Regions from separate parts of the Homo sapiens genome. Here region 2 is linked to region 1. Evidence: promoter capture Hi-C in 16 types of primary human blood cells and fetal thymus (Javierre and others, 2016). All regions are on one chromosome and are shown on one strand. Each heading gives the region's core, a stretch centred on a gene start or on the middle of the fragment in contact. The rest is flanking DNA. Distances are from core to core; before and after follow the strand shown. Region 1 holds the start of OR5K4 (olfactory receptor family 5 subfamily K member 4). Region 2 overlaps GABRR3 (gamma-aminobutyric acid type A receptor subunit rho3).

Region 1 (7,001 bases), core at 900-3,399:
AAAAGGAAGGAGGAGGAAAATAGGGAGAAGGAGAAGAAGAGAAATAAGAAAAGGAGAAAAAGAAATATTGGTTAATAGTAGACTGGATTAAAAAAGAAATTCTGGATGAAATGCATGAAAGAGATCATAGAAAAAATAAGTAAATATGAGTATATTAAATTAAAATATTTATAAATATCAGAAACAAATACTAAGACTATCAACCCACAGAAGAATTATTTGCCACAAATAGTTGTGATGTCTTTTCTCTGTAAACAATGATATAAATAAGAAATAAAACAGACAAAACAAAAATGACAATTCATAAAAGTAAAAATGGTCAATAAACACATAAAATATTGGTACAGCTTACCATTACTCAAAAATAAAACAATGTCATTATTAATATGTTTTAAAATGTTTAATGAGTGTTAATATGTAAACTGTAGTTATATATAATACATAGCCAATAACATGGTTGATGCCTTCAAGAATGAAAAGGAACTTAATTATGCTTCTGGCTAAAGTAGACCTTAATCTACTCTGTCCAATTTGTTATAAGTCACAATTAATTATTCTGCAAAATAGAATATTTTGTAGGTGAGCCTCTTTGCATGTGTGTATGTGTGTGTCTGTGTCTGTATATGTCTGTGTATGTGTGTGTGTGTTCCTTTTCATTTTTTTTCATTCTTGCAATCTTATCTAAATAAAACTTCATTACCTTAAATATAAATTACTGCAATTAGTTTGCTTCTAGTCTTTTCCACTCTAAAGTAATCCACATGTGTCTCTCAGGTCAGTTTTCTGAAAGAAAACTATCATTTCACTTTTCTGCCAGGAAATTTTAAATGTTTCAAACACGCTACATAGGATTGGATATAATGTCTTCCATTAACTAGGAAACATTAATCAAAGAAGACTCTTCTACACATTTAAACATTTAACTTTCATGCTATGTTGATTAATTGAGGTTTAGGATAATACTCTCTGACAATTCCATGAGAGTCATGAAAGGTAGTAATAACAGTTACCAGTGAGTTTCCCCGATTCATTCTGGTTGTGGGATTTGGATAAAGATTTGTGAAACAATTTTGAAATTCCATTGATATATTTTTTAAACAAACATAGCCTAATGATTTATAAGCTTACATTTTGTGTAAAATCACATATTAATTTTTCTATGTTCCCTCTTTATGAAAGCATTTTAATAAATTAAAAATAAATTTGCTATAGAGCAAGTTTGTTTAAGAATGTTATAATTCCTCATAATTTTTTTAAGAACATTTATGACCTCCTTATTTCTCAGACTATAAATAAAAGGGTTTAGTAATGGGATTACTATTGCATAAAATATTGCCACTGGTGTATCTTTATCTCCTTCTTCAGATGGTCCAATATACATGAGAAGACAAATGTAAAATATTGAGACAGAGAGAAAGTGGGATGCACAGGTAGAAAATGCTTTACCTCTTCCCTCCTTGGATTTCATTTTGAAAACAGTCAAAAGGATGCAGAGATAAGAGATCAAGACAGTAGCAATGGTAAAGATTTGAATTGGTATTGAAAAGATATATATCATTAGTTCATTAATAGAAGGATCTGTACAGGAGAGTCTATACAGTGGAAGAATATCACAGAAAAAGTGGTGAATTTTATTAGACCTGCAGAAAGTTAACCTTAATAAAAGCCCTACATGAATCATGGAATGCAGGTTTCCAGCTTTGAAGGCCCCTGTGGTCATCCGAATGCAGAGCGTCTTGGACATCATGGTGTGGTACTGCAGTGGGTGGCATATGGCCACATAGCGGTCATAGGCCATTGTCGCCAGAAGAAAGCAGTCTGTGGTTTCAGCAAGACAGAGAAAATAAAATTGTGCCATACATTCATACAGGGAAATAATTCTATCCTCAGAAAAGAAATTCTCTAACATCTTGGGGGTAACAGCACAGGAACAGCAGGAATCCATCAGAGCCAGGTTGCCCAGAAAGATGTACATTGGTGTGAGAAGACGACGCTCTACATAAATTAATGCCACCAGACCAAGATTCCCCACCATGGTGACCAGATAGATGGCAGAGAACACCACAAACAGAAGCGTCTTCAGCTCTGGATAATTTGTAAATCCTATGAGGATGAATTCAGCTGCTAAGGAGTGATTTTCCCTAGCCATTCCTGGCTTCTCTTCTGAGACATAAATTGTAAAGAAATGTAAGATTCCAAAGCAGAATGTTTCTAATTCTCACCCTCTAATTTCCCTGTATACAAAAGGGAAGAAAGTCTTCTTCAAATTATCCTGTGCCATCTCCTAAACACTAGCACACTCACTGTGGGTCAAATCAAGTGAGAAAAAATGTATCATGGATTGTGTACCCAGGGCTTGTCTGAAAATATCTGTGTGAATTCCTAGGGCAGGAAAGCTTTATCTGCATGAATTATCCTATGCCGATGTAAAATCTGTGGTCAGTACATATAATTTTCCATTTCCAAAATTAAGACATTTTCTTATGGTATCTTTTCCTCCAGGAAAAAGTAAACAAGTTTTAAATCGTATCCTATTGGATCAATGTGACGCTTAAAATGAATTACTCTTAAGGCATTTTAAATGTCTACATTTTAAAAACTGCACAGAAACACAGTGATTTGAAGAATGCTTTTGCTAGCTTAGTAACCCTTTCCAGATAAGGTCACCAATTGCATATTTTATGAGATATCTACTCATCCTTTTAGAGAGGATAAGAATATGAAACATCTATGAGTGTTCTTAATCATTGTATTGGATATCATTTTTATGTTCATTTCAACATATTCTAGATACTATTCCAATCTTGGTATGACAAATTTCCCAAGGAGTTATTACTCTTAATTGCTCACTTATCCTAATACTTTCTGTCTCTAGTTTTAAGAGTTTTACATGCATGTCCAACATTGTAAGATTTGGTGGCAAAATCTCCACTCATAATGTGAATATTCTTCATGGTAAATATCTATTTTGTATTCACTCAAACATCTCTCATAGAAAGTAATGTCTTCATTTTCAGTGAGTTCTATGGAGGTTCTCCATTTATTTACTTGAGTTTTAAATTTATTTAAATTTACAAACTCATTATCTACTCTTTACTGGCTATATATTTATTTGAGTTTAATGATCAACTAAATTTATTATATAGTTCTTATAGTTTGGCAACTGTACATTAAAATATTTCAGGTACAGAAACAATTTGAGTTTTAAAGAATAATAAAATTAACTTTCTTTTCTTTTAGAAGTTTCTAAAAGTCTTTAGCCTTAGCATACTCCAAACAGACAATTTTGGAGAAGAGCCTACGATAGTTAATTCAAAGCACATTTTTTTTTTTTTTGAGACAGAGTTTCAAGCACTTCTCCTGCCTCAGCCTCCCGAGTAGCTGGGATTACAGGCATGAGCCACCATGCCTGGCTAATTTTGTATTTTTAGTAGAGACGGGGTTTCACCATGTTGGTCAGGCTGGTCTCGAACTCCTGACCTCAGGCGATCCGCCCGCCTCGGCCTCCCAAAATGCTGGGATTACAGGCATGAGTCACCTCGCCCGGCCAGTGAATTACTTTGAAAACATTTTGGTTAGGTTTTCTCTGTTTCTTACTTTTGTTTTTCTATTGACTCACATAATATGATGAGGTTTTCTGGAGTTTTATCACTAGAGGCTTGTAATCAAATGAATACAATAAAATGTCCTTTATATTTTAGGTCTATACCTCTTTTAAAAAATCTTTCAGAATTATATTTTTAAAAAAACTTTGTAAAAGTATAAAATGCTGCTCTTTATCATTATTTTAGTAACATCTAATGGAAAATCAACTGAAAATATTTATCAGGTGGACTGTGGAAAAATGGATTTTATTATCAATAATTATTTTATATAGATCATATTTCAGAATATAATGAGTAAAATCTCATTTTCTCTTCACCAATGTAAAATATAATTTTTGAACTTAATCAAAAATTAATTTGCCTATAGATCGCAGAATTACTGTACAAGGACATCATCAGCCTTATCTGTGTATTTGCTGATAAAATTATGGTACTTTTGAACAAAGAATAGGTCAGACTTATCCACTTACTATGTCTCCTTATGGCTTTCTATAATGGCTTCACTTTAGAGACAAAGAGAATTATTAAGTGGCTAAAATTTAAAAACAATAAAAATACTGAAGTATATTAGAAAATTTATATTCTGCATTTTGATACTATAATATAAATAAATTAGTAAATAAAATTAAGTCCTCATATTTTGAGTTCACTGAGAAACATTTTATAGTAGCTGACTGGTCTCCTGATGTTTTTTCTTTGTAGGGAAATTAAGAATAAAAACATTGGTTTTTAAATCATTAGGGAATAAATTATAAAAATCTAGGACACTCCCTACCAATAGGTTAGTGACAATAGTTATGCAAGTCTCAGGCAAAGTTAAAGTTTTCTATTCTAAAGGGACTTCCTCGGCATTGGCATCAGAGTGTTTCTGCAGAGACTCTAATCTGATGAGCATGGTTCCCCCAGCACCAGTAAATCAAACAGCATATAAAGATGGATGCATTTTGAGATTCGGAAGTTAAATCAAAATTGCTATCACTAAAAACAGCTTAAGGTTCATCTTGATTTTTCACATACTTGGAAACTCTCTCTTTCTCTTACACACAGACACACACACACACACACACACACACACACACACACACCCCTTGATTACCTGAAAACTATGATGGAGAGAAAAAGATTTACATTGATCAGTTGAGGTGGAAGTTAAACAGAGATTTGAAGAGAGATTTGTATTTGTGGACAAGAGGCAAAAATGTGGCAGGATCACCCAGGGTTGTATTCCTTTCTTTTGCTCCCCAAATTAATCTGGTCAAATCTTGTACATTCATCCTCTGAAGTAAGTCTGACATTATGTTCTTCAGTTTCACTTATTTGTCATAAGGTAACTTTAAAAAACTTAATTGAGGTATGATTTATGTGCAAAAAGCTATACACATATAATGTATACAACTTGATAAATTGGGACATAAGTATACACCCACAAAACTATTACCATAATCAATGCCATCATCATAAGATAACTTACTTGTTAATTGGTCTCCTATCCCCATCTTTTCTCTAGTGTGTAGATATGCTCTTATGCATTAGAAATATTTTTGGCTTCTCATTAGTCTTCAAACCAAGTTTTGTCCTTTATCTTGGTACTCCAAGGGCTCCATACAGAGGGCTTATATCACTTAAGGCTATTTTCTACCATTCACCTTTAAGAATCCATCTCCAGAGACACGCCTATAACTTATCTATTCCTTGATGTGTTAGAGTTTAACCTTGACCTCAGAATATTTACTCAGAATCTACTCTTCACATGAAATGCCCTCTTTGATTTATTCTTCTATCCAAATCTTACTCAATTTTTATGAGATCTGATTCTCATTATGAAGACATCCTCAACTTTCTGATCTGCAAGATAATGACTGTTTGTGTGATGCAAAGAGCTCTTAATTGTACTTCACTCCTGTGTTCATTCAGCTGTTCTTCATGTGCAAGTTTTGTTTATTCTTAGATTGATTTTCTTTTTGGTTTTCCACACTGCAAATCCCTCATAGTTCCAGAAAATGTAGGCCGTCGGTGAATGCTTATTGAATTGCTTGCAGAAATTTCAATTAAATTAACTTCAACATTATAGAGTGACTACAATAGAGAAGTCATGGAGTAAGACATTGCGCAAGGAGGGGTATGTGGTAGGAGTGAGTTAGGGCAGGAACCTGAATAGATAAATAAGAAATAATCCTGCCCTTAGAGAGCTCCCAATCTAGAGGATAAAATCACTTATACAATGATATAATATAGAAACTCAGGCTGAGTTAAGTATTACAAACTGAACTATAAGCAAGGTATATGAGAACACAAAGAAGGACTTAGAGAACTAAGAGAAGACATTATACAAAATGACATTTCTCATGATTCTTGAAGGATAAATTAAATTTCAATAGGCAAGAAGAATGTGTAGCAAAGAATTACAGGTTGAAGGAGCGGCATGATTAGAAGTAAAAGCATGGAAACTTGAAAGCACAAAGCATATTCAGTGAATGGAGAGTGAACCAGAGTAGCCAGAGTCTGGGCTCATGACAGGAAGGAGTTGGAGGTTCTCATCGCCACTCTCTCACTAAGATCACTACTCAACTCCTAATTACCACACCTAAAGCATTTTTTTAAATTATTATCTTAACTAATTAATTTTATGATTTGGCACCATTGACCACACTCTGAAGCATATTTGCTTCTCAGGCTTCTGTGATTTAATGCTTGTTTATTGCTACATCTCGGGCTGTTCTTTCTCCATGTTTTCTCTTAGATCCTCTTTTCTTCCTTTCCTCACACGCACAAATTCCTTAAAATAAAAGTACAACCTTGGGTACTTTTACAAAATTATGGCACTTTGTTTTAAATACTAGACACTAATTTAGAAAAGGCTTGCCTGATATTTAGCCAGTAAATCACCATACTCTCTGATGTCAATCAGTTGTTTTGTAAGAAAATTAAAAAGTGTAAGCAAATTAAAAATTTTTAAATTTGAAAAACAAGTTCAAATTTCTCTTAAAATATGTGGAATATTTTTATGAAGGTGGAAACATTGTGTTTCCAAATTTTTTAAAAAATAAGCAAACATGAGAGTTTTTAGTATGTTATCAGATAATTTTTGCCCAGAGTATTATATGAGGATATAGAAAAACATACTAAACATGTTTCAAGATTTTATCTGTGTTGCACAATTTCATATTGATAGTAGTTACAGTTCACTTAGTTAAATATCATACTGACATCAAAGGACAAAATAAAGGTTTTAATCATTTAAAAATATTTGTTGAGTAGCTACTTATCATCAGAGAATGGATTAGCAAATTTAGAAAACCTATCTTTTATTAGAAGAAAAATATATAATTCATCCTAAATTCAGCAATTGTTTTAAGTATTGACATGATTCCCAGTGAACCTCCGTGTGGCATGTGG
Region 2 (7,021 bases), core at 2,416-4,915, 320 kb after region 1:
GATAGCATTCATGCATCATCATAAATCACCTCTGTTTGACATCCGAAAGAGCAATATCTTGGAATTTGCTGACATTTGTAAATTTATTTATGCTTATTTGGGAGAAAACAGTTAAAGGGTTCATGTAAGGATCCTCTTTCAGAGAATGTATTTCTTCAATTAGTAGTACATTTATTACTAATACATTAAATACTTGTTTAATGTTTCTTCAAATTTATTTTGAGTAGAAATTAGTCTAAGCACCAACTTCATTTAATGTCAAGTATTTCTAGGGTATATAGTTTCATGGATTGATGAAATAGTATCAAAAGGCATTAAAGCCATTTGTCTTTCAAGAATAATTTTCATACGTTTGACAAATCATGAATATCAAGACATCATCATTATTATCTTCCCATCAATAATCAGGAGCATGTTTGGACGTGCTAGTAAGGGAGATAGCTATCTGTGAGAGTGACCTCTTTATACACCAATTTGCCTAGGGCTTTATAGGTTTTAGTACTAAAAATGCCAGGAATCCCTTCAGCCCCAGGCATACTGGAATGATTTGTCACCCTACTACCCATATACCTTTAATAATCAAATAATGTCTTTGAGAAAGAGTTCTCTTTTCACCAAGCACCATATTTCCAAAAAGACCCAAAAGGAGAAATTGAGGAATGAAGAGTATCATCTGGTCAACACTGGCAGCCAATGGGGTGACAGATGTTTAAGCTAGATTGCTCTCACATCCTAAATATGTATTATGCATTCACTGTAAGATCAGGAAAGAGAACATAAAATTTTGATAAATATCTTCTGAAGTCTCAGGTTTAATGACCAAAACCAAAAGAAGTGTGTTACTAGATTACTGATTCCTGCACTGCGATTAAAAATCAGGGACTACTGCTCACACTTCCCTTCCATGCTTCTGCTCCCAGACCCAGACCTGAGATGATATGAAGTCTTGTTCCATTTAACCACTTTCCCAGTCTTCGTCATAGCAATTAGCTAAGGAAATATTTGGGAAATGTAAGAGTGTACCACCAGACTCTATTTTTTTTCATATAGCTTATTACGTTTTATAGTATGTTTTATCTAATTTTAAAAATCAAAGGACACTGCTTAAAATATTATCTGTCATCCATAGAGTAGACTTGTACAGTCTGGTGGATGTTTAGATGAGGAGAAGAGAGATGACTATAGTAGCTAATTCATCACACCAACCCACTATCAGTGGCAGAGTTGCTACAGAAAAAATCTACCATGTATATTTTTTAGGTGACATTTAAAGAAAAAGAAAAGAACATTGGTTCTTTGTGGTGAGGTAGAAATTTTTTCTGATGTTAAATGCCTCATTTTTAGATCCTATGTAAAGGAAAAGAAGAATTTTAGAGCCTATGCAAAAGCAGACTTCCCCCGTAGGAAACGCCAGGATTTCGGCCATGTGGGGCCAATCATATTTGTTGTCACTTCTATATTCCTAAATGAAGTGCTCCTTTGAGTCACAAGCCAGAATGGGATTCATTAAAATTTATATCTGCTTCTTTTGTTCTTCAAAGAAACACCCTCCAGGGCACTGGAGATTGCATAAACCATCACACTGGTCCAGAAGTAGCCACTTAGAATGAAACCCAGGCATTTTCCCTGAGTGAACAGAGTAACACAGCCAGCCAATTTCTGAGCTGTCATTCAAGCACTCTGTCATGCAGATTTTAGGGCATTTGACCAAAATACAGTAATTACTGTATAGAGTCATTTTTAGAGTAAGAGGCCCAGGAGTCTTCCTACCTTAGTATGTGAATAGATACTGTGAGGTTCTTTGCCCAGCACCCGACCTGATTATCAGCCAATAATTAAGTAATGAATGAATTAATGAATAATCCACTCTTCTATAATGCAAAAGAACTAATAGAGTGAACATGAAAGGAAGACATGATCTTTGAAAATTATAAGGGGGATTTATATATGCATTGTTTGGGGCCAGTTTTTATACAATAAGGCTCTTAAATGTTTTGCTTTTAGTTGTTTTCATTCAGAATATAACCTCACTTTTTAATCCAGAGATTCCCTTCTTTCAAAACCTAAAGACTTTAAAAAAATATGTATTCAAACATATCTTTTGTTTCCTAAAAACAAAGTAGGGAGAGGTGTGAATAAAGTAAGTTATGGCAGGTGGAAAATGTTCCCCTTTTACCTAGAGAAGAAATTTTACTCCTGGATGATGCAAAGAGGATTAAGCAAATAGACTCACTGAATATTTATTCATTCTTTCAACAATTACACTGAGTGATATTTACATGCAAGTGCTGGGTTGGGGCTAAAAATGCTATAAGAGCAACGTATTGACTCTGGCCTTGAAAATAATCAGCAGAGTGCTGGAGTCTGCTCAGTCTGGCTTGCAACAGCCAATCATTTTCAGGAAATTTATCAGCTGGCTGTTAAAAGCACACATTATTAAAAAATAAATTATATAAGCCTGCAATTAAATTAAATACTTTCTAAAATAAAGGTAGCAAATACTTAAAACTCACCACTTCCCAATGATTTCTCCACACTTTATCATCTGTTGCTCTTGAGGTTATTTAGGTCTATTGTAACTGTATTGTAGAAATACTACAGTATACCATTACTATACTATACTATACTATACTATACTATACTATACTATACTATACTATACTATACTATGTGCTAGACACATCTCTGCCATGCATGTTGTTGGTAGCCTGAAATCAGCCATGGTGGAAGTATTTACACCATGGAAATAAAACACTACTATAAACTGGGGCTTTTTTTCCTAAAGAGTCACTTGTTAAACATTACCCTGAACCTAATGTAAAAGCCAGTAGGTTCTCAGGCATGGCAAATCCAATGCTACTGCAAGCAAGACAGAAGAGAGTGGCAGAGACTACAACTACAAGGTATATGCTCCTCTGAGGGAAACTGGCTGGTCAGGTTCAGCCTTCTCTTGTTTTTGTTTGTTTTTTAATTTTTAACTTTTTTTTTTCTGAAACAAGGTCTTGTTCTCTTGCCCAGGCTGGAGTGCGGTGGTCCAATCATAGTTCACTATAACCTCAAACACCTGTGCTCAAGTGGTCCTCCCACCTCAACCTCCCAAGTAGCTGGGACAACAGGCGTGTGCCACTACACCTGGCTTTTATATTTTTTTGGTAGAGATTGGGTCTGTCTATGTTGCCCAGGCTGGACTCAAACTCCTGGCCTCAAATGATCCTCCAGCCTTGGCCTCCCAAAGTGCTGGGATTATAGGCATGAGCCACCGTGCCCACAGCCTTCTCTTGTTATAAGAGAACTTGAGCCTCGTGTGGCCAGATTTTCTGATTTTTTTCAAAAGAAGCAAGAAATCCAAGCTTTTCTCTGAATTTTTCCAAGTTAATGTACCACGTGAACCATTTTTTAAAAATGTCTGCAGACTAGCTGCTAATCTGGTCTAATTTCCTCATTTCACAGATGAGGAAACTGAGGCCTCCTCACTGAGCTTGTGATCTGACAGAGACCCAAGTGAGATGTGGGAACTGTCGTGTTTCAAGTGAAGCATTCTCTCTGGCTGGCTTTTCCACAGAAATGTTCATCTGCCTAGATTTTTTCCTTTACAAGAGACAGGCTATTGAAAAAGTCAGGTATGTATTTCCAGAGTTCAGAAGTTAGGAGTTCAATCAGAGCCATAAGATTCACTACATCTGATGTACCACGTTTTCTCTAAGACTTTTCAAAAACATCCAGAGCCTGGAAATAAAGATTGGATCAAGAATTATGAAGGTTTTCTTCGTGATGAAAAATTGGACCAATTGATTTTCCCACTACTTTACCTTATTCCTTGGATTTGCATCCATGTATATAGCCTAATAGAACATTTTTGCTTCATTTTGTATTTTTCTAAAGAAAAATAATAAGCCTACAAAAAGTTTTTAAAATTTTGCCTACATTATTTGGAACAGTTAGCTGAGTTTCAGTGTGCACTGGTTCACAGTAAAGCTTGACTGAGAAAAACGTCCATGTTATCAAGAGGCCATGCTTCTAGAATGACAAGGAGAATGGAGTGATAAGGTGGAGAGTTTTGACCAGATTCTTATTTGGAAAGGATTATAAATGGCAAGTTCAATTTTTTCTAGATAATTTATGATACAAATAACAATAGCAATAATGGATTTTTATGTGGAAAAAGATACCTAGAATCCAGTTATGCTTTTGTTTTTCCAAGCTCACGTCTAATCCTGATTCATGAAACTACATGATTTTTCCATGTTTAAAATCATAGCATAGAAACCATTTTGTATTTTCTTCACTTAAGCATTTCTCACATTGCTTCATAGACACCATAATGGTATTTTAATCACTCCATATTATTAATTTGAATTAAAGGACAAGAATTATCTCCTTTGTTTCTGAACATTTATTTTCAAGTTTGCACTATTATAAGTAACAGCAATAAATGTTTTCACACATTTTATTTTTTTCTTTACCGAGAAAATTATGATTTTTCTGGAATTGTATAATTGAGTAAAGCACATGAAATATTTTTATAGTTCTTGAGATGAATTTCTAGGGGAGTTTACCAATATTTATACTCCCACCTGCAAAATGAAAAGGATTTAATCATATCCTTTTTTTTTTTTTTTCCAAGACAGTCTCACTCTGTCACCCAGGCTGGAGTGCAGTGACACGATCTCGGCTCACTGCCACCTCTGCCTCCCAGGTTCAAGTGATTCTCCTGCCTCGGCCTCCTGAGTAGATGAAATTACAGGCTCCCACCACCACACCTGGCTAATTTTTGTATTTTTAGTAGAGATGGGGTTTACCATGTTGGCCAGTCTGGTCTCGAACTCCTGACCTCAAGTGATCCGCCCGCCTTCGCCTCCCAAAGTGCTGGGATTACAGGTGTGAGCCATCGCACCTGGCCTCATCATATCCTTCACAGCATGGGGCACTAACATTATTTTTTGTCTTTTGCTAATTTAATAGATATAAAATGACAGTTATGGCTTCAATTGGTATCACACTCTTGACCCCCTCAATTAAATACTTTTAAATTTGCTTATTAATTATGTCCTCCCTTGGGTAACTAGTCTCTTCGTGTCAGACCTAGTTCTTTTCAAATTCTGATTCTAGTTAACTCATCAAATATGTAGGCCTCCAGGCTCCAGGGAAAGCAGTTTTATAAGGCAGCCAACCGAGTGTGTGTGACTCAAGTCAGATGATTTTTTATCATTCCACTTATAAAACTCCAATGCCGCAGAATGAGTTAGGTGCATTTCCTTTTCCTCAATCAGTTCTAGTTTTTAATCCTTTGACTACTATGTCCTCCTCAAAGACCCTCTTAGTCCCCCTGAGACCACTCAGAATCAAGCCTTTCCCTCCTCCCAGACCTCTGCTTTCTTTGTCACACAATTACAGTAGAGTTTCTGACACTGAGAAGAGGGAGCATAGAAATATGTTTTCTTTGTGTGACCCAGGAAGGAAGAGGCCCCAATTCAAAGAGAAAAACCACACCTATTACCAAGACTCACGCCTACTGTTTCTCAATCTTCATAATACTTTGTGGGAAAGGACAAAAATTAGGAATGCCAGTGAGAGGCTCTCCCACGAATTGAGATTTCTTTGCCTGATCCCATCAGGACTCAGACTCCTAGAAGATCCTCTCCTCAGACAGAAGAAATCCAAAAGCTTCTTCTCAGTAGCGGCTAAACTGAAATCATTTTTTTTTTCTAGAATGGGGGAGAGGGGAGAAGACACAAAGGGATTTAAAGTGGTATGTGTATAGAATAAGACTAGAACACTCTGAGATAAATCTGATGCTCCATGATATAGTGATCCTTTATTAAGCAAATTTCCTTCTGTCTCCTTGGTTTTATTTCATCCTTCATTTTATTTACCTTCCTATGTATGCATCAGAGGCCTTCAAACGAGGGTGTCTATCCTCCTGGGGTACAATGTATTATACCTCTAAGGGTAGATGCAAGGTATCTGAGGGGCATGTAGACATGAATAGTTTTAAAACAGTTTTTGGATCTTTAACTTCCCTCTGACCTCTTTCTTAAAACTGATCTACTCACCACCTGCAGTGTCCTTTATTACCTCCTTTTAATGATTGCTCTGTCCCACCTGGCAATATACAGGCATCCCTCTCCCTCTTCCTGAATCCTACGAGTATTGCCCCAGCGTGTAAAAAGTTCCTGGGTACAAAGAGATCATTACAAATATTGTTGTTGAGATAGCGGATGATGCTGTACTTTTCTTAATGGCAATTCTCTATTTTTTGCTTTTAACAAAATTGAAGGAAGAACCTAATTAATTTGTCAGGTTATAAATAATTAAACTGATTGTTGAAGATAAATTCTACAGTGTGAGTTTTGAAAAGTAAGTAAGGAGTTTAAGTAATTAAGTTGCTTTGTTAAAAGAATACTGAAACAAAATTTCTTCAAATTCCATGTACTTCCACATATATGAACAAACTTTCTCAATATTTCCATCTATAAAGATTAAAAAATAAGAACAGAATTAATGCAAAAACCGAGTTTTATTCCAGCAATGAGTAATACCCATTTGCCGATACATAGAATAATTGGAGAAAGTGAATCATCAGTTCATTAATAAATACAATTTTAATAAAATTTTATTCTTAATTTTAATAAGTATCAATATTTAAACAAATTGTTTTATTCCATTCATAATTATTATAGAAAATAAAAAAGTTAATTTCTATGCTTACACATTTTTCTTACAAAGGTACATGATGGAGTGATAAAATTATATGAAGTAAATAAAATGGAGATAGTAGTTTTTTTTAAAAAAAGAATGATATAAAATTTCTGATTTTTAAAAAGCTTGTTCAGGTATCTTTAAATGCATAATGTGTATATTTAGATTCACTGGATACACTTAAAGGAACAATATGTTTTATCTGAAATCATCAATATTTGAGTAATTTCAAAATTTATGATGAAGAAATGTAAATGTCTATTTAAATATATGTGAGGGGAATATATAGATTTTCAAAATTCTTTAAAAGCGTATTTAAGCA

What was found. The method cuts DNA at HindIII sites, captures the fragments that hold promoters and counts their contacts. A CHiCAGO score of 5 or more calls a contact.
Region 2: a contact is called between a fragment that was not itself captured here and the fragment with the promoter of OR5K4 in region 1, in 2 of 17 cell types (M1 macrophages and endothelial precursors). The highest score is 5.1, in M1 macrophages.

Annotation. Positions count from the first base shown.
Region 1 is chr3:98,349,002-98,356,002 of GRCh38, reverse strand. It overlaps OR5K4 (olfactory receptor family 5 subfamily K member 4), which reads right to left and starts at 2,149. Exons shown (of 1, transcript NM_001005517.1): 1 at 1,184-2,149. The coding sequence starts at 2,149. The coding sequence ends at 1,184. The HindIII fragment of the contact is 1,273 bases long and covers 1,126-2,398 here.
Region 2 is chr3:98,027,713-98,034,733 of GRCh38, reverse strand. The region is part of intron 2 of GABRR3 (gamma-aminobutyric acid type A receptor subunit rho3); the gene reads left to right. Among named protein-coding and RNA genes, the nearest start is that of GABRR3, 4.1 kb to the left of the region's middle. The HindIII fragment of the contact is 625 bases long and covers 3,353-3,977 here.